2 separate regions of the Homo sapiens genome follow, and region 1 is linked to region 2. Evidence: promoter capture Hi-C in 16 types of primary human blood cells and fetal thymus (Javierre and others, 2016). All regions are on one chromosome and are shown on one strand. Each heading gives the region's core, a stretch centred on a gene start or on the middle of the fragment in contact. The rest is flanking DNA. Distances are from core to core; before and after follow the strand shown.

What was found. The method cuts DNA at HindIII sites, captures the fragments that hold promoters and counts their contacts. A CHiCAGO score of 5 or more calls a contact.
Region 1: a contact is called between the fragment with the promoter of EIF2D here and the fragment with the promoter of CR1L in region 2, in 2 of 17 cell types (erythroblasts and total B cells). The highest score is 6.2, in erythroblasts.

What each region holds. Positions count from the first base shown.
Region 1 is chr1:206,609,162-206,616,575 of GRCh38, forward strand. It overlaps EIF2D (eukaryotic translation initiation factor 2D), which reads right to left and starts at 3,304. Exons shown (of 15, transcript NM_006893.3): 1 at 3,126-3,304; 2 at 2,023-2,213; 3 at 215-298. The coding sequence starts at 3,181. RefSeq lists enhancers at 387-486, 527-586, 2,997-3,066 and a silencer at 3,357-3,566. The HindIII fragment of the contact is 3,738 bases long and covers 2,205-5,942 here.
Region 2 is chr1:207,642,004-207,649,007 of GRCh38, forward strand. CR1L (complement C3b/C4b receptor 1 like) reads left to right here and starts at 3,130. Exons shown (of 12, transcript NM_175710.2): 1 at 3,130-3,327. The coding sequence starts at 3,231. It also overlaps the pseudogene CD46P1. RefSeq lists a silencer at 2,930-3,099 and an enhancer at 3,160-3,239. The HindIII fragment of the contact is 2,525 bases long and covers 995-3,519 here.

The DNA of each region.
Region 1 (7,414 bases), core at 2,054-4,553, 1.0 Mb before region 2:
ATACTTTCACAACACTTATTTAAGCCTTACAACAGGGCCAGAGGGGCCCAGAGATCTTGTGTGGAACCAGCCAAGTGAGAAACATAAAACACATAGGGGAAAAAATTCCATTTTTCAACCACAAAAACACAGGAAATGGGTAAGTTTATTACATCAGTTGGCTTTTGCTAAGTAGGTTTCAGCCAATAGCCAGAATATAGGAGAATCCTCTTACCTGCTCCCCCTACCAGTTTCTCGAGCACCAGAGGCCATGTTGTAAAGGTTGGCAGAAGATCAGGATAGGACCACAGCGTGTACACTGTACAAAAAGAGATCCAGAAAACACTACTACCAAAAAGCCAATCTTCTAGAGAAATGGAAAAACCTAACACTATGGTCACTTTAATTAGAATACAGGAAAGAAACTCAACTCAAAGCTAAAGAGAAGGTTGTAAGGGGATGCCCAGAGAGGTTTCATTTTTGAGGAAGGAAAAAACCTAAGAAACTGAGTGTCACTTGAGATTTGGAGGCATCCGGATTGCAGCAGCAGAAAATGGTCACAGTGGACAAAAAAGTGAGGGCAGAGAACCAATGAAGCTTTTATTTACGGCTTCAGAAGCAAGTAGCCTAAGAACAGGAAGCCAGCTGTATAAAATTTGGAAACTTTCCCATGTTTATCATTTTTATCCCCTCTGTTTCCATAGTGATTAGCAGCAAAAACCCCTAGGTCAAAAAGCATTGTGGTTGTCTTCAGGTACAGCAAGGAAGTGAGATCAGGGGCAGGAGTGGCCTAAGGATATTGCATTGCACTATTGCAGACAACCCTGGAGGATGAAAAGCCCCAAGTTACAAAGTAGGTGTCAGCAGCTATGGAAAAGAGAAAAGGAGACTGAGTCCCTGAGATTTGTGACAGAGAAGGCAAAGAATCCTAGAGAGCCACTCATAGCCTAAAAAATCCCTGTGAGACCTATGGTTAAAGTACACCATGAAAACAGCTGGATATGTAGCTTATCAATCCAGCTTTATTCCTATCACAGTATATCTTTTCAGTATTTTAGGAAAATCCTGCTACAGATAGTTTTAAGAAACATTTTTTAGGCTGGGCACCCTGCTCATGCCTGTAATCCCAACACTTCGGGAGACTGAGGCAGGAAAATCACTTGAGCTCAAGAGTTCAAGACCAGCCCGAGCAACATAGTGAGACCTTGTCTCTACCAAAAATTTTAAACGTAGCCAGACATGGTGGCATATGCCTGTAGTCCCAGCTACACAGGAGGCTGAGGTGGGAGGATCCCTTAAGCACAGGAGGTTGAGGTTACAGTTAGCTACGATCACACCACTGCACTTCAGCCTGGGTGACAGAGTAAGACCTTGTCTCTAAAAAATATATATATTTTTGGCCAGGCGCGGTGGCTCACGTCTGTAATTCCAGCACTTTGGGAGGCCGAGGCGGGCGGATCATGAGGTCAGGAGATCAAGATCATCCTGGCTAACATGGTGAAATCCCGTCTCTACTAAAAAATGCAAAAAATTAGCAAGGTGTGGTGGCGGGTGCCTGTAGTTCCTGCTACTCGGGAGGCTGAGGCAAGAGAATGGTGTGAACCCAGGAGGCGGAGCTTGCAGTGAGCTGAGATTGCGCCACTGCACTCCAGCCTGGGCAACAGAGCAAGACTCTGTCTCATGAAGACATGCCCTGAAATTCCATCCTTTTCAAGACCTCTGCTCTATTCCTAGTCAACCCACTGTAAACTTCTCAGCCACTGTTCCTTCATCTCAGAACTTCCCTTTGCAACCACCCTTACTTACTATGTCAGCCCTTTTTTTAATCCCTCCTATAGTGGTTTTGCATAAGAGAAAACCTTTTGCATCCTAGAATTGAAAGACCCAATTCTAGGAACACCAGGTCCATAAAGATCCTTGGGGATGGTATTGGGAGATTTCGTGCTTGCTTATTTTATGGGAGACAATGGAAGAAACAGAGAGAAGCAGATGTTAGGCAAGAACTACCTAATGGTAATGGCCATCTTCGTCCTGTTGTCATACCTGTTGGATACAGATTTTTCTCCAGTTCAAAGAGGATGGGGTTACCACCACTCACGTACACAGTCACTGCATCCCCTTTGTGAGCATACAACTTCACAATGTTGAGCTCCTCCTTTCCAGGTACTAACTCAGAGACTTGATCAGTTCCAAGGGTGGGGAAAGCAGTTGTCACATCAGCTCGAAGCTTTCTCCTGTGGAAAGCACACCAGCACTGTGAATGCTGCCTGGACAGACTTTTAATAAATATCAAGAACGAACTCAAAAGTGCTCACTATAAAATCACAAGGGCCAAAGAAAGATTGCCTGGTTTATGATGTCCTAGTCTCACACACACTCTTCTGAAACATCCTAAACTCTTTTTCATCCATTGTCATCTATTTTCACTCATTCCTGGGGTATGCCTTCCCATTTTATGGGTGGGAAAACAGGCCCAGTGAACAATCCAAGTTAGCCTGACACAGGAAACAGCCCTGCCTTCCTGACTTCATGCCTAGCCCTTGGGCCCACTCCTTTCTCATACATGCTTCGCAAATATGCCAGTTTATGATTAAATAACTATGCCATGAGACCTATAGACAACTATAAAGCACTGGTTACAAAATTCCAAACACAATCTCCATTTGTGACCCTGTCTGAACAGATACAGTTCTTCTTACCACATGTGCCTTATTCCCTCCCACCTCAGTTTCCAGCTGTCTCTCCTGCCAGAATTAATCACTAGTCATTTTTTTCTCTTATACTTTTAATTCTTGGTATCCCATCCGATCTCTCCCAAGGGGCATTAAGCTCTTTGGAGGGCAAGAATTCTGTATTCCTTCACTTCTGCATTCTCCACAACACCTTAAATAGTCTGCAGTCAGTAAACTCTGACTTAACTACGTTTTCTTTTAAACTCACTAGACTATCCAAAAGAGAGCCAGGTCCCCCTCCATCCTCACCTCAAAATGTGTCTAACCCACCCTTGCCTCCTGGGGTCCCTTCCCTGGCATACCCCTCGGCCTCCACCCGAGGATGTCGGCCAAGAATAGCGAGGGCTATGGGCCAGCGGGGCCCAAGAGGTGTCTGGTTGTTCCGTGGCAGAGCAGGCCCCTTTCCTCCCTCACCTGTCCGACCCCTTGATGGCCGTGTTGGACTTGACCCGAAAGGCCTTGGCAAACATGTCTGCTGGGGTGGCCTGGGGAAGAGAGCACAGAAGCCAGGGAATGTCAAGAAAGCGAGGGCGCAGCAGCTGCCAGGCCCTCAGCCGTGGGGGCAGCCATGCTGGGGCCCGGCCGCGAAAAGGGCCCGGCTGGAAACCAGGGCCGCGCAGCTTCGTGGCCGTTGCCGCTGGGGAGGCCGCGGCCGCCCCCAGTGGCGGTACCTGGAACTAAAGCAGGGCAGGGAGGGGCAGGGCCCAGGGAACGCCCCTCCCCCCCACCTTCCCATCCCCTCGCGGGCCTGGCTCTGCGCCTGCGCGAGCGGCTCGGGTTCCCCGTCCGTAGCGACTCGGCCACGCCAATAGCTGTTCTGTTTATTTCCTTCCACCCCATCAACCTTAGGAACTGCTTTGAGTAGAAGCTCTCTGCAAGCTCCCATTCCATTCGGTTCGGTTCAATTCCGCAAAAATAATTGAACTGATAAACAGTTCAGGCTTCGGCCGGGCGCGGTGGCCCAAGCCTGTTATCCCAGACTTTGGGAGGCCGAGGCGGGCGGACCGCTTAAGCCCAGAAGTTCGAGACCAGCCTGGGCAACATGGCGAAACCCCATCTCCATAAAAAATACAAAATAAAAAAAAAAAAAAAAAAAAAAAAAAAGAAAGAAAGAAAGAAAGAAAAAGAATTGGGAGGCCGAGGTGGGCGGATCACCTGAGGTCGGGAGTTCGAGACCAGCCTGATCAACATGGAGAAACCCTGTCTGTACTAAAAATACAAAATTAGCCGGGCATGGTGGAGCATGCCTGTAATCCCAGCTACTCGGGAGGCTGAGGCAGGAGAATTGCTTGAACCCGGGAGGCAGAGGTTGTGGTGAGCCGAGATTGCACAATTGCACTCCAGCCTGGGCAACAAGAGTGAAAGTCCGTCTCAAAAAAAAAAAAAAAAGAAAAGAAAAAAGAAAAATTCAGCCGGGTGTGGTGGCGCATGCCTGGGGAGGCTAAGGCGGTAGGATCGCTTGAGCCCAGGAGGCAGAGGTTGCCGTGAGCCGAGATTGTGCCACTGCACCCCACCTTGGACAACAGAGTAAGACTCCGTATCAAAAAAATCAAACAAACAAACAAAAAAACCTCGAGGGCTTTTTGAATATTTTTCTTTATTTTATTTTATTTTGTTTACTTGGAGACAGGGTCTCGCTGTGTCACCCAGGCTGGAGTGCAGTGGCGCAATCTCAGCTCAATGCAGCCTCCACCTCCCGGGCTCAAGCGATCCATCCGCTTCAGCCTCCCGAGTAGCTGGGACTACAGGCGGGCACCACCACACCAGGCTAATTTTTGTATTTTTTGTAGAGACAGGATCTCACCTTGTTGCCCAGGCTGGTCTCAAACTCCTGAGGTCAAGAGATCTGTCCGCCTCGGCCTCCCAAAGTGGTGGGATTACAGGACAGGTGTGAACCACCAAGTCGGGCCTAAATGTTTTTCTTAAAGGCATTCTATGATTAAGGTCTATTCATTGTACTATAAGCTAGAAGCCTCAGCTAGAATTTTCTGTAAGATTTTTCTCATCCCGGATTTTTAGTTTACTTGGGTGGTAATAACAGTAATAGAGAATTCACTGTTGTCCCAGATTTGTCCCAAAGTCACACAGGCAGGGAAGAGAAATTAGGTTTTCCTCAAAGGGACAGCTGTGTTCCCTGGAGACAAGGATTTAAACACCCGGAATCCTGGCTCTTCGTAAATTAAGTCTTGCATATTAAAATTACATTAAGCAATTTAAGTAATAAAAGTAAATTATGTTTTGCATATTAAAACTTCCAAGTGTCCATTCACCAATAAAAAATCCCAATTGATTCAGTGACGCAGTTGCACAAAGGAGAATTCCACACTGGCTTTCTAAACATTAGGCCTTCTACAATGTTTGCCCACCACCTATAGTGGCCTAGGGACCAGCCCCAACTCCTCCTAAACCTGTGACCCACTAGGCCTTTATTCTGAAGTATCCCAGCCACCAGGCCAATGTCAAAGGAGCCCAGAGGAGGACAGTGCCTACAACAGACCCCTGTACCCACCCTTCACCTCCCACTTAGCCACTCTTCGGATGTGCAATACATTTGGGGTCTTTTGCAGCACAGCTGCTGAGGAAGCCTCTTTCTTAGGGAACAGAGGAAAGCTATTCAGAGAATACTAAACATTTTAAGCTAGGGGAACTTTTGTATACCAGATGTCCTTGGATAAGAAAACATCAATTGTAAACCTAAAAATTAATTAGTGGTTGACAAGTAGGAGCCAAGACCCCAGAGGATTCTGCACCATGGCATCCAGCCTCCTCTTTGGTAGAGCAAGAGCCCCCTTCCCCAGTGGGCACAATCCCACCTTCTCTGCTTGCATCACAGACCTGCCTGCTCCCTGCTGGCTGACCCTATTGCAGGGAAAGCAGCCTGAACCTTAAGTTCAGCAAGCCCTGATTCCTGTGCCTTCCATCAGCAGCTCCAGAGCCACCCCACAGGGCTCCCAGACTGTTCCCCACTGGTGGGTCTGAGCTGCCAAGTTGCAGCAAGGCACAGGGCAACTATACCAAGAAAGCTGCCATTTACTGAGAAAAAGGATCGTTTTCACTAATTATACTTGATAGCAACTGGCTGTAAATTGGATTCTTTACAAGAGTACCAAGTATTTGGAAGCAAGGGTAGGCCAGATGAGAGATTCCATTTTCCTTAGACTTCCTTTTTCTTCTCTTCCCAGTGAGTCCTAATGGAGAAAATTTAGTTTAATTCATTGAAACTTAACTGGAAGCTTTCTAATCAGGCTCTGTGATTTTTAAGACAAATTCGACACAAGCACTCTGCCCTCAAGGAACTCACAGTCTAACAAGTGGTATTTATGTCCTCTTGAAGTCTATAGGACCACAGGGTACCCAAACTGATAATTCATCCATGGCTACCTACTAGTTACTCCTTCACTAGCCTTCTCTTCCCTTCTACTGAAGCCCACACGCAAATCCCCTGAAAATATGGATCATTGGCATCTACATTTCAAATGTGACCAATGGTTTGAGAATTCTTTGATGGATCTGGATGGCTTTTCAGATGAGCAAGTGTGTTCACAGCCTCAGAAAGAGTCATGTTATCTTCACCCATATACAGATGATTCAGGGATACGGGATTTTTACTTTTTCAAATGTGTCCATGCCCATTGCCTCATGTTACCTTCATACCAATGCTGTAAGCAGTTATTGTTAACCCCTTTGCCAGGTGAGAAACCTGGAGTACAGAGATGTTAACTAACTTGTCCAGGCTCACACAGTTACCTTGCATGATTTAGTCTGTGGATGATGCTTTCCAACCACTAGGAAAAAATGGATGCAATAAATGATGTCAGGACAAATGCCTATCCATTTAGGAGGAAAGTTTACCTCATATTTTCATAAAAAGAAATTCCAGATAAAGATCTAAATGTAAAACAAAACAAAACAAAAACTACCACAAAACTAAGCATGCTTTTACCATATAATCCAGCAATCACTCTCCTTGGAATTTATATAAATGAGTTGAAAATGTATATCCACACAAAAACCTACACATAGTCATTTATAGTAGCTTTACCCAGAATTGACAAGACATGGAAGCAAACAAGATGTTCTTTGGTAGGTGAATGGATAAATAAACTGTGGTACATGCAGATGATGAAATATTCTTCACCACTAACAAGAAATGAGCTATCAAGCCATTAAAAGACATGCAGGAGCCAGGCGCAGTGGCTCACGCCTGTAATCCCAGCACTTTGGGAGGCCAAGGTGGGCAGATCACTTGAGGTCAGGAGTTCGAGACCAGCCTAGCCAACGTGGTGAAACCCCATCTCTACTAAAAAATACAAAAATCAGCCACACGTGGTGGTGGGCACCTGTAATCCCAGCTACTTGGGAGGGTGAGGCACGAGAATTGCTTGAACCCAGAGGTGGAGGTTGCAGTGAGCTGAGATTGTGCCACTGCACTCTAGCCTGGGCGATAGAGTGAGACTCAGTCTGAAAGAAAGGAGAGAGAAGAGAGAAGTGAGAGAGAACATGAAGGAATCTTAAATGTGTATTATTATATTAAGTGAAAGAAGCCAATCTGAAAAAGATCATACTGATAGTATGTAAGTGATGGTTCCAACTATATAACATTCTGGAAAAGGCAAAACTTTGGAGATAATAAAGAGATCTGTGGGGGAGGGAAAGATGAACAGGTAGAGCACATGTTGGGAGAAAAGCTGAGTGTTGGGAGA
Region 2 (7,004 bases), core at 1,880-4,379:
ATGGTTCTTTTTTTTTTTTTTTTTTTTTTTTGAGATAAAGTCTTGCTCTGTCACCAGGCTGGAGTGCAGTGGCGCAATCTTGACTCACTGCAACCTCCGCCTCCCAGGTTCAAGCAATTCCCCTGCCTCAGCCTCCTGAGTAGCTGGGACTACAGGTGTGCGCCACCACGCCCAGCTAATTTTTTGTATTTTAGTACAGACGGGGTTTCACCATGTTGGCCAGGATGGTCTAGATCTCCTGACCTCGTGATCTGCCCACCTCGGCCTCCCAAAGTGCTGGGATTACAGGCATGAGCCACCGCGCCCAGCCCTAACATCAAATTTTAAAAGAGTTGGCCACAGTTTAATGACATCCCTGCACACCAGCCTCCACCCATACTGCCCTTCATAAGCCCCTTAAAGGAGATCCCATAGTTCTAAACCGGGTCCACAAACACAGATATCCTCATTCTCTCCTTTTCTTCTCTTTGGCAGTTTGACAAAATCTTTAGGGGGAATTGGAGGAAACATTAATTTCCTAAATCAACTTCATTCAAAGCTTTGGCTTCAAGTTCTACCCGTTAAGGCCTCAGGAAGTTCATTGTCGACATTGAACTCAGTCACTAAAATGACCTCAAGGCTAAGGGATAGACCACAGCTCCACTTCACAAGTAAGCTTGCAACACCTGATTTAGGAAAGTTTGCTGTGCAGACAGTTGTAGCTCATCCATTTTACAGACCGATCTCGATTTGTTTCCTAGGGTCTAAAATTATTTAAATCAAAATCTCTCAGAAATTTCTGGACATTTAATAAATTCATGCTGGAGGAGAACTGGCAGAGATATGTTAAATGCACTTGACCACAAGAACCATTTATTTCATCCAATATTTACCAGCTATTCATTGTACACTTACTACAGATTTTGGCACTGGAGATATTATAAGAAAGCTCTAACCCTGACTTATGGAACTTATCCCAAAAAATAGGAAACAAGGCTCAGAACCATTCAAATGAAGCTTCAGTTAACTCAAATAAAAATTAGTTTTATAAATTTAATGTGAAAGTCTTCGAGTATATTAAGAATGGCTTGATTAACCCCAGGGATGGAAATTTTACTGATTGAAAGAAAGTTTCAATAAAATACCGATCTTTGAATCTAATCTGACACCTGAAACTAGGAAATCAAACACTAGCCATATTTTTTCTTCTATTCTTTATAATAATTTTTCTCATGAGAAAAAGGTATCTTTCTTCCAAGCCTGAAAATAAATGGAGAATTTTTAATATCTATTGATGTGGAGAAAAATAAATAGACTATCTGCTTTCACAAATAAGTGCTGGCATTGAGCCACAGAACATGTCTGTCATATTGCTCTTTCACACCATACATTAACAGGAATAATAATTTCTCCTCATTGAGTTTCCTATTTACTATCCCCTTAATTATACCTCCTTTAATTACTGTCATAGAGTGTCTGAATTTTATAATCCAAGATACTAAGATGTTTATTTGATATACCACCAGACTCAATGTCTTGTATTCTATGCCAAAAATTTGAAAATGTTTGGGAAGAGGAAATTCCGTGGTTTGGTGAACCCAGAAAGTCTTCAGTACATCTCAGTTATAGAACTGTATTAAATACATTTAAACTCTATAATTCCATAAGACCCATTTTAGGTTTATACACTAAGCATCTAATTCCTCACTATCCTCTCATACAAACCCTGTGTAATACAAGTTCTACTCCCATAATTCTATGAACAAAACAACAATTGATACATAGATTTGATTTTTAAAATACATTTTCTTTACCTTATTCTAAATGTAACATAGGGTCAACATAGAAAAAGAAAACTGAAAAGCACAAGGAAAGTGAAATATCTATAATCTTAACCATTGTTAATTTTGTTGTGTTCCAAATTAGTGTATGTATATATATATATATATATATAGCATTTTTGTTTTAATAAAAGGACTGCCAAAATGCACATGCCAATTTGGACTCTGCTTTTTCCACTTACAATGATATCATAGTTTCTCACATTTGGTATTCTTTTGCAATACTTGCTGCATAGAATTCCATCACACAAAGGTAACTGCCTCCTTATTACTTTTGCTAGACACTTAGGGTTTACATTTTTTACAAAAATTATAAATCTTTGATCACAGCTCTGATGATTTCTCTGGGAACTGAGAGCCTAACACAAGTCATTTCCACTTTAAGACTTTTAACATTCTGAAAAGTTATGTTACAAACAGAGTGCTGGTCCCCCTGCAACATGTTCACTCACATTGGCTGACGTTTTAATTCTTTGCCAATCTGAGGGGAAGAGATGTCAACTTTTTTTGTTTGCTCTTTTAATGCCAGTCATGTTCCCTTTTTTTTTCCCCCTTTTACCAGTCATACTGGCTTACTCAGAACCCTACAAATCAATCCTGCTCATTCTTAATTTTCCAACATTGTTCCTGAGATTGTTTCACCAGAAAAGTTCTCCCCCTTATCCACTTCGCCTAACAATTTCTACCCATCCCAATCCTCCTGCATTTATTGCTTCCAGGAATTTGGCACTTAGGACACCCTTGTCCTTACATTGTTCATGCATGTATATTTCGTCTTCAATAAAACATTTAGTTGCTCAAGGGCAAGGGTCCCATAGAGTCTCAATATGCTAACGGCCTGGTGTTGCTTAATAATTTAGATTCTGACGGGTCCTCTCCAGGGAGGGGAGCAAAGGGCAAATTATCTTAGGGGCTGGGAGTGCAGAAGCCAAACCTTTGAGACTGTGAAAAGAAGACGGCGCCGAGACGATTCAGTAGCAGGCATTCAAGCAAGAAAAACTCAAATATTGTTCCCAATAATGCCTGACTAATGCCAAATACCAAGTAAGGGCCCAGGCAGTCCTGACAGCCTGCAGTGCCCCAGGATAAAACTAACCCTGAGGGGTGCTAGCCCACGATAACCCCCTGCCAGGGCTCTGGACACGCCCTGTCTCCTCGAAGGCCAACGGGCTGCCCCTGCGCGCCGAGGCCCCGCCCCGCGGCCCGCCGATTGGCCCCAGCCGCCCCGGCGCTAAGACTCAATTTCACACTACGCGCCCAGGCCACGCCCACCTGTCATGCGGCCCTGGAAACTGTGAGTTTGGGGATTGTTGTGTCCACTAACCGGACTCAGAAGGGACTTCCCTGCTCGGCTGGCTTTCGGTTTCTCTGCTCACCTCCGGATAAATCACGGGGTCTCCCGCGCCGCTCATGGCGCCTCCCGTCCGTCTCGAGCGTCCCTTTCCTTCCCGGCGCTTTCCTGGGTTGCTTCTGGCGGCCCTGGTGTTGCTGCTGTCCTCCTTCTCCGGTAGGACCCCGGGGTGGATTCGCGCGTCCGCGGCGAGGCTAGAGCTCTGCTCAGTCAGTCGGGCAGGAGGCGCGGGGCGAAGCTCACTGCACGTCGTGCCTGCTTGGGATAGAGAGCGAGGCCAGGGTTCTCCGAGGGGTGCCGTGCTCAGATCCCGGGGGTATGTGGCGGGGGATGCGGGAACCACGCAGAAGCTTGTTTGGTGGCATCGTGTGCGCGGCCGACATTTACGCAGGATCTGGCTGCGTTCCCAAAAGAAGCGTGAATCGTGTTTTCGGGATTGAGCCCAGTCAGCAAGGGGAGGGCTTACTGGGCGCCCCAGGTGAGGGCTTGCTCTGGAGTGCACAGGTGCGTGGGATTGTTGCTAGAGCCCGTGCTGTGCCCGTGGTGAGAGTTTGCCCTGTGTTCCCTTGGTGCCTTGGTGAGTAGGGTGTTCATTAGGGCTTGGACAGTACCCGCGGTAAGGGTTGCAGTGCGTCTGCTGTGCCCCATGGGCTGGGCTGGCCTGGGCTGGGCTGGGCGAGCAGGGGCCTGGCCAGGTGTTGCTGGGAGCGTGCTGTGCGCAAGTGGCCTGTGTGCGGAGTTCACTGTGGGCAAGACAGCTCACTGTTTGCTTTGAGTGGAGCGAGCGCGGACTCTGCGGCTAGGGAGGGCATGTTGAGTGAGAGCAGGCTCTCAGTGCCTGGGGTTAGAGAGGTGGTAAGGGCGCACCATGCTTTTAGTGCCTTCTGTGAACAGTGTCCGTGTTGCCTGAGATCGTATTGGTCTTGAATTTTAAGTGGCTGCTTTTTTGGGGGGTGGGTGGGCCATCGAGTCATCTTCCTGTTCCCAACCAATATAGACAGTATCTGATTCCATTGCCTAGTGGCTTTTTGACATTGTTTTCCTTCTTTTCATTAGTTTGAGTCATATTTGAGAGATGTGAAGCAACCTAAAAAACACTGGTAGCCAAACCTAGTGAGAAATTAGTATCCTAACAAAGGAAGGCAGATAATGTTAATCTTGTTTTCCCCTACAGCTCATAAACTGAAGCTTAAGGCCTATCCCACTGTTTTGTATTTCATTGAATGGAATCAATATTTTTAAAAATGCATGCTAGGCCAGGCCCAGTTGCTCACACCTGTGATCCCAGCACTTTGGGAGGCCCAAGTTGGGTGATTGCTTAAGCCCAGGAGTTCAAGATCAGCCTGGACAACATGTCAAAACCCCATGTCTACAAAAAATAAAAAAATTAGATGGGCATGGTGGTGTATGCCCGTGGTCCCAACTACTCCAGAGGCTGAGGTGGGAGGATCGCTTGAGCCCAGGAGGAGAAGACTGCAGTGAGCTGTGATCATGCCACTGCACTCCAGCCTGGATGACAGTGTGAGACCCTGTCTCAAAAAAAAAAAAAAAAAAAAAAAAAGCCAAAAAATACATGCTTAAATACAGGCTTATTGTGCAAAATGAACAAAATAAAAGGACAACTGTTTTTAATATTTTGTTATATTTCCTTCTGACTTTATTGTGTTTCATGTGTATCTATGTCCAAATTATATTTAGGATCTTATTCCATGTACAGATTGTACGTTGCATTTCTTCTCTTAGGAACATTCATTCAACAAATATGGGTCTTGTATGTCTGGTGCTGTTACACTAGTAGGTAATAACAGACAATTCCTATTTTCTTTATCCTTTTTTTACTATTTGTTTACACACACGTACATGCAGGAAGATAAGCAGGGACTTTTTTTGCTCATTGTTAAGTGCTTAATGCCGGGAACACAGTAGGCAATCAACAGATGTTTGCTAAAATGTATTGGGAGTGGCAGACATTAACCAAAACATAATAGTAACAAATATATTAACCAGGGAAGTGTTCTGGAGGAAAGGAGTATAATTTTCTGACAGCATTTAACAAATGACTGGGGGGAGGGAAGGCTTTGCTTCTCATCAAACAGACAAAACTCTGCCACTTTGGGGCATCTGTGCTTTCTGTTCCCTCAGTCCTGGAACGTTCTCCCCATGACCTGCTGCATAAATGGGCTGTTTCTTCTGCAAGCTCAGCTGGAATGTTACCGCTTCAGAGACCTTCTTGGAACCCCCCAACTCAGGTTGAACACATACAACCCAGTTCAAGTACCTCTTGTAATCACCCTTTTAAAGTGATCTTTTCTGTTCTCTGTCTCTCCCCATCAGAATGCAGGAATCTTCTGTCTTCCCCCATTTGTGGTTCCAAAAGCCCCATTTGTTTGCTTCTGTATGAACCCTAACTCAGTATCCATATAGACATCTGTTAAATATCAGAAAATTAAATATACTATTTGGCTGGGGCTTAGAGCCTAGGAAAAAGTCCCTCCTGCCTCCAAGAGGAAGGTTCTTTAAAGAGCTATGCTCAGGATGGTCTTTCTGTTGTACCTAAAAAGCTAGGGCAGCAGCAGCTGAGGGCCAGAAAGGATCTGTCTCCCCTGTTTATGTTGACTCTGCAGGGCTTCCAGTACTTCAGTCTTGCATCTCACTGATCATTAAAACGTTCATTTTGAAGGAGGGTGATGGGATTAGGGAGCAGTGGTGTTAAGAAGAAAACGAAAGGACTTTTTTTTCTTTTTAAAGATTAATGTTTAGAATAGGCTTAGTACTAGAAGTACATACAGCCTGGGCATCATAAGGAGAGCCCACCTCTACAGAATATTAAAAACAAAAAATTAGCCAGGTGTGATGTTGCATGCCTGTGGTCCCAGCTACTTGGGAGGCTGAAGGGCGTGAAGGGGGAGGATCACTGGAGCCCCCATGGTCAAGGCTGCAGTGAGCCCTAATCATACCACTGCACTCCAGCTTGGGTGACAGAGTGAGACCCGGTCTCAAACACACACACACACACACACACACACACACAGACACACACACACACACAGAAAAAAAAAAAAAACCTGGAAGTTGAAGAAGATAATGAAAGCAATTTGAAATAGAGGAACATAGAATTATAAAATGAATAGGGTGCAACATGGAAGATAACAAAACTAAAAATGAAGAGAAGGAAAAATAAGGTTAAGTTTGAGGTTGATAGGGTTAAATCAAGACAGGTATGAAACCTAGAGAAAGTAAAAATGAGAACTCACGATGCTAGGCAGAGAGAATACATGAATTAAAATAAACATTCAATTTTTGGAGCAACTCACTCTCACAAAGATAAGGTTTTGTAAGCAGGTGGTGCTGTGCATGGGAGACCTGCCCTCTCAAAGGTAGTTGCCAAATGGTTCCAGATAGCAGAAGGAAACATGTGTCAAATTTCAGGCCAGTCTCATTCATTCCTCCAGAAGAGGAGCTGCTTTTTTGGACAAAACCCCCGATCTCCTGTTGTGTGTGGTCTCTTCTGCCTATTTCAGGTGTTTTCCTTATTTTCAATGAAAGAAGCCAAGACCAGTAAGTTCTTATTGCTTCTTAGTTTCCTCACTCGGCATACTACAATGCAAAAAGAGCAGTCCATATCTGGTCACCTGCCAGGATACCAGAAGACTGGGAGATAGGCAGCACAAGAAATGGCTAAATCTTCTTTCTCCATTGTTCTGTAGAATGATTATTTTCAATATGAAATTGATTACAATATATTCTTCACATTGTTTTGTGTTTGACAGCAGTGGACTTTGAGTACCAAATTTTTTTCAAATAGCTACTATGAGGGACATATTGTGCTGGGT